Regions from separate parts of the Homo sapiens genome. Here region 2 is linked to region 1. Evidence: promoter capture Hi-C in human tissues and cell types (Jung and others, 2019). All regions are on one chromosome and are shown on one strand. The core of a region is centred on a gene start or on the middle of the fragment in contact, and the rest is flanking DNA. Distances in the headings are between cores, read along the strand shown.

What was found. Contacts are between HindIII fragments. The study calls those that stand out against the background at their distance.
Region 2: a contact is called between a fragment that was not itself captured here and the fragment with the promoter of UBAC1 in region 1, in 2 of the 25 tissues and cell types used here (dorsolateral prefrontal cortex and lymphoblastoid cells).

The regions. Positions count from the first base shown.
Region 1 is chr9:135,960,084-135,962,964 of GRCh38, reverse strand. It overlaps UBAC1 (UBA domain containing 1), which reads left to right and starts at 1,592. Exons shown (of 10, transcript NM_016172.3): 1 at 1,592-1,940. The coding sequence starts at 1,803. RefSeq lists silencers at 1,443-1,852, 1,863-1,982 and an enhancer at 1,472-1,972. The HindIII fragment of the contact is 18,279 bases long and covers 1-2,881 here.
Region 2 is chr9:136,152,319-136,155,474 of GRCh38, reverse strand. No RefSeq gene overlaps it. Among named protein-coding and RNA genes, the nearest start is that of TMEM250, 35 kb to the right of the region's middle. RefSeq lists an enhancer at 2,524-3,092. The HindIII fragment of the contact is 8,476 bases long and covers 1-3,156 here.

The DNA of each region.
Region 1 (2,881 bases), core at 343-2,842:
TGGCTCTCACAGCAACGTCTTAATGCTCTGACCCGGCTCCTCCAAGCCCTCTAGCTTCCCCCACTCTCCACTCACCACCTTGGTGTTCCTCCCCTTTCTCCTCCACCAGCTTCCACGATACTACCACCACCTCCACTGCGGTCTCTAACAGTCGGTACTTCTGCTTCCTGCGTTAAAAATGCCCCATTCCAGGACTGTATCCTGGTGTCTGGTCTTAATCACTACCATATTTTCATTGAGTAGCAGAGGCTCCCACCTGTGAGAGGCAATTAGTAAGTGCTGAACTGGACACATGGAATCTGGACGAGGTTGGAATTATCACAGGAGAAAAATGAGGATGTGTGTGCAAAATGGTGTGGACAGAATAAAAGCCTGCAGGCAGGAGGCAGAGACAGCCTCCCCGGTTAGATTGCTAACCTCTGAGAACGGGAACTGTGCCTTATTCATCTCTGCGCAGTAAAGTTTTTTTAAATGAATGGGATGAATGAGTACAGATCAGTCAATGTGTCAGGTCTAACCTGAACTACAAAATTCATATTTAGGAGCATGGTAAGTAAGACGTTATCCAGGACTGTTGAGCTAGGTACAGAGACCACTGCCAAGGGGGCTTGCAGTGGGGAGAGAGGTCAGGCTCAACTCCCAATACAGCAAGGGCAAGTGGGTGGGGTCAGTGAATGGAAAATTAATAGGAGAAAACATCAGGGATGTGGGCGGTTCTGGCTAAACCGACCTGACAGGGTTCTTGCTGAAGAGAGGCTGGAGATATCAGACAGCACCTGGGGGACGAGGAACCTGACCAGACGTCCAGGGTGATCTGATATTGAGGCTGGGAGTTCTTGCTAAACTCACTTATCAAGGCTCTTCGCTAAAACTGGATTTTACAAGGAAGTGTACAGATGATGTAGAAGGTTCAGGAGCCTGCTTAAGTTTGGCCAAGCAAAGACTCTTTGTCACACCCCACAGAAAATGAGTCTGCCTGGCATCACCTGCACCAAGGGCGGCTTCCCTCCCCTCTGGGTGCCCCGCAAACCTAGGCTTCGCAGGAACAGTGACTCTCTGATCTGCGTGTGAATTAGAAAGACCTAGGCTTGTTAAAGCCAAGTTCTTTGGAGAGCCTCCGTTCTACAGCAGTGCAGTGCAAAAGAAATATCACAGCAGCCATGTAGGCAATTTAAAATTCTATCTTAAAAAGGTTAAAAGAAACAGGTGAAATTAATTTTAATGACATATTTTTCTTAACTCAATAGATACAAAATATTATTTCAACATGTAATCAATATGAAAACATTATCGAGATGCCTTACATTCCTTTTTCCCGTTACTTCTTTGGGATCCAGCGTGTATTTTACCTTTAGAACCCATGAGGTCCCACGTGGTGAGTGCCCCGGGTGGGAACCGCCTGCAGCTCGGGGAGGAACGAAGCTACCAGAGAACTACAGCTCCCGGCATGCTCCGGGCGCGCCCCGTGACGCACTTCCTTTGCGGTGGCCACAGCGCGCCCCCGGCGGCGGGAGCGAGGCGCCTGTCCGAGAACCACATCTCCCGGCATGCGCCAGACGCGCCCGTGACGCACTTCCGGTGCGGCCGCGACGGCGCGCCCCCGGCGGCTGCTGCGGCGGCGGGAGCGAGGCGACCGCTGAGGCCGCGGAGAGTGACGGCGGCCCGGCCGACGGGAGCCGGGGCGGGGCGGCGGCCCAGCGAAGGAGCGCGCGGGCGGTCTGGCCCCGCCCCCTCCCCGCCCGCCTTCCCGGTGACCTTCAGGGGCCCGGGTGGCGGGCGCAGGCCCCTGCGGCGGCGGCGGGATGTTCGTGCAGGAGGAGAAGATCTTCGCGGGCAAGGTGCTGCGGCTGCACATCTGCGCGTCCGACGGCGCCGAGTGGCTGGAGGAGGCCACCGAGGACACCTCGGTGGAGAAGCTCAAGGAGCGCTGCCTCAAGCACGTAAGGCCGGGCCCCCTCCCCTGCCCCCAACACCCGCTCCGGACCCCTCCGACTGCGGACCCCGCCTCAGTCCCCGAACCGCCCCGACCTGGGGTCCGCCGCCCAGTCCGCAGCTCCCAGGCCCTCTCCTCCGGGGGTGGAGGCAGCGCCTCCTGCCCGTTTGCCCGACTCTCCCCCTTTCGGATCCCACACCTCTGGACGCTCGTCCCGGGCCTGGCCTTTCGGCCGGCGGACTCCGGTCACTAAGCGCTCGCCCCGTGCCAGCCGCCCGGCCGAGCCCTGTACACGCCAGCCTCTCAGTTAACTCTGCAGCCACGCAGGGAGGTAGGGGCAGATCGGGAAACTGAGGCCTGGAGAGTGAAGTCGCCGACGGAGCAGGGCCTCGGGACTTTCCGGCAGTTGTACCTTTTTGCTGTTGGGGTGAGGTTTTTTTTCAGCAGCATCTTTGAGAGCTGAGAATTAACGTAGGCTCCTTCATGAAGAGGCCCCTTCTCCTTCCTCTTCCCCTTTCCCGCAGAGCCGGCTGCTTGGAGCTCTTTTCCTGGCTGGCCCCAGGCCACTGTGCCTTTTAGCTGGAGTCCCTGAAATAGTGCCGCTGCGGGACAAGGCCCTGCGCCCCTGCTTTTCTGCAGAGGTAAAATTGGTCAAGAGAGAAGTCCCAGGAGTAGGGTCTCCTCGCGGAGACACTTTTTAAAGTTTATTCACCTGAAATACTCCTGTGTATTTAGTTCCTTAGGTTGCTGATTTTTGGAACTAGTTCTCGAGTCTCTAAAGGACTCAGTAAGGTCAGCTAAGAAGCCTGTCTGTGTGTCAGACTGACCTCCTGTCTATACCTGACATGATCTGAGGGCTTGGCAGAATTTAGGTTGAAGGAGGCTGCAATTTTCTAGTGGCGACTCCATGTGATAAGTTACGACGTATCTGTGTTGACAGGTTGAGTG
Region 2 (3,156 bases), core at 368-2,867, 190 kb before region 1:
GTTTCTGGGCTGTGTGGTCACCCGTGTTTAAAAGAGCAGTTGAGGAAACTGATGGATTGTTGACTGCTGGCCACTTCCATTTCATTTTCCACTTTTCCCTGGTTATCAGAGTCAGACGCGCTCATCATCCCAAATCTGCAAAATATAGAAAAGTTGAAGAAACACAGCGACCCCTTCCCCGTCCATCCATGGATCCTGGCAGCTGCTCTCCCACATTTTCTGCCACACTCGTTCTTTGCACACCAAGGACATCCTATAGATTCTGTTTTTGAACCAGCCTTTTCTCACCACGGGATCTCCCTGCGTTACTGGAAACTCTTCCTACACGTCGTTTTTGACAGCTGCGTAATATTCCGTGCCGTGGAAGCCCCACCACTTGCTTAACGGATCTTCCCAGGAGCTCCAGGGGGCAGAGAATGATACCAGTGCCGGGGGTTGAACAGCCCTCCCTGGAGGCTGTCGTCCACGTACATGTCCAGCCATCAGTTTCACCCCTCCTAGGAGCCAGGGCCTGGCCATGGCCTTGGCCAGCTTGAGGTCCCAGTGGCGGAGACTAGGGCCAACCCACAGGGCCCACAATGCATCTGGACTCTCTCCATGGGCAGGCAACCTCTTCCACAGAGTCCTGTCTTCCCTCTGGGCCCTTCTGACCCTGGGGGGATTTTCCACAAGGGTCCAAAGGACACCACTGGCCTCCGGACCCCCTCACGGACGGCTGCCAATATGTCGGGGGAGGGGCAGGACAGGAGAGAGGGGAGGGGAGAGACTGGGGGATGGGAGAGACTGGGAGACCGGAGAGACTGGAGGGACAGGAGAGACTGGGGGATGGGAGAGACTGGGAGACCGGAGAGACTGGAGGGACAGGAGAGACTGGGGGATGGGTGAGACTGGGAGACCGGAGAGTCTGGAGGGACAGGAGAGACTGGGGGATGGGAGAGACTGGGAGAGCGGAGAGACTGGAGGGACAGGAGAGACTGGGGGATGGGAGAGACTGGGGGGATGGGAGAGACTGGGGGACGGAAGAGACTGGGGGGATGGGAGAGACTGGGGGACGGAAGAGACTGGGGGGATGGAAGAGACTGGGGGGATGGGAGAGCCTGGAAGGACAGGAGAGACTGGGGGGATGGGAGAGACTGGGGGATGGAAGAGACTGGGGGAGGGGAGAGACTGGGGGATGGAAGAGACTGGGGGGATGGGAGAGACTGGGGAATGGGAGAGACTGGGGGGATGGAAGAGAATGGGGGGATGGGAGAGACTGGGGGGATGGGAGAGCCTGGAAGGACAGGAGGGGGGACGGAAGAGACTGGGGGATGGGAGAGACTGGGGGGACAGGAAAGACTGGGGAACCGGAGAGACTGGGAGGATGGGAGAGACTGGGGGAATGGGAGAGACTGGGGGGACAGGAGAGACTCAGGGGATGGGAGAGACTCAGGGGATGGGAGAGACTGGAGGGACGGGAGAGACTGGGGGGATGGGAGAGAATGGGGGGATGGGAGAGACTGGCCACGAGGCTCCCTTCTTGATCCCATGGACTCTAATCCAGCGTCTGAAACTGGTTCTGGAGCAGATGCTACTGTACCAAGAAGGACATGCTCCTCTCCTAACACACGTGGTGCATGGAGACCTCATTCCTCACCAGACCTAGCCACCCGTGCAGGCCCTTCCTTGTGTGCTGGGCTCCGCTCTAAGCCTCCGACATGGGACTGCTTGCTTCACCGCCACACCTCGGGCAGGGGCTGCTGTTCCGTCCATTTCACCGATGAGCAGACTGCAGGAGGAGAGGTGAGGTCCTGAAGCCCGCAGGTGGCAGAGCCTGCCCCGCCCTGGCAGCCCCTTTTATGGCAGTGTCTCTGCCACCTGCCGGGTGGCCCTTCCAGAAGGGGGCGGCCAGGGCAGCCTTCGGCCCTTGCCTAAAGCCGTGTGCAAGACAGGCAGGGCAGCCGCTGGCACTGAGGGCGGGCCAGGAGCCCAGACTTCTTCTCATGCCAGGGGCCTCACCGCTGGGTGGGGCAGGCTCCTGGCAGAGGTGCGGCGTGGACACGCACACCCCAGCCCAGCCTCGTGTGCCATGGGCAGGGTAGCCACTCACCAGCTCTGGGATGTGGGACATACTGGTTGCAGGCCCCGAGCCTCAGTTTCCCCTTGTGAAAAATGAAGTCTTGGGCCTGTGGTCAGCTCAGGGGGATCTCTGAGCTGTGTGCCCCTTTTCTCCTGATCCCTCCAGCCTCAGACGTGGGTGACAGCGTGAGGGGCGGGCACCACCCAGGCAGCGACAGTGGAGCCCTGGTTCTGGGAAGGGTCTGGGGTTCTGAGCTGCTAAGTCCTGAAGTGAGGGCTCTGTGGGGGACGGAGTCAGGAGGTCTCGTGCCCAGGCCCAGAGGGTCGCAGAGCCGGGGCACTCTGCTGTGCCCAGCCCTTCAAAGGAGGTGGTTTCTTCTTCCCCTCAGTGAGAATTCACTGGATGGTCAGGGTGAGCATCTACGAAGCTGAGGCCCAGCGACGAGGCTCACCCGTGACCTGGCCTGGCAGTTCCCCCTCCTCAGCCCACGTTCTGCTGTGGTCGAGTGACAAATCCACTCCTCTGGCCTCTCTGGAGCCTCATTCTCCTTCCTAGCTCCTCCAGCCTCCCTGAGCTCACTGCTGCTCAGCCAGCCCTTCCTGACCACAGCCACACATTGAGCCCTGTTCCTCTCAAACTCTGACCCCGACCCTGGCCATCGATCTTGATCTCTGCCTCAGACTAGGCCCCGATCCCTGTCACAGACCAGGCCCTGATTTCCATCACAGACCAGGCCCTGATCCCTGTCTCAGACCAGGCCTTGATCCCCATCAGAGACCAGGCCCTGATTCCTGTCTCAGACCAGGTCCTGATCCCCGTCACAGGCTGGACCCTGATCCCCATCACAGACCAGGCCCTGATCCCCATCACAGACCAGGTCCTGATCCCCGTCACAGGCCGGACCCTGATCCCCGTCACAGGCCAGATCCTGATCCCCGTCACAGGCCGGACCCTGATCCAGACCAGGCCCCGATCCCCATCACAGACCGGACCCCGATCCCCATCACAGACCAGACCCCGATCCCCGTCACAGACCAGGCCCCGATCCCCGTCACAGACCAGGCCCCGATCCCCGTCACAGACCAGGCCCTGATCCC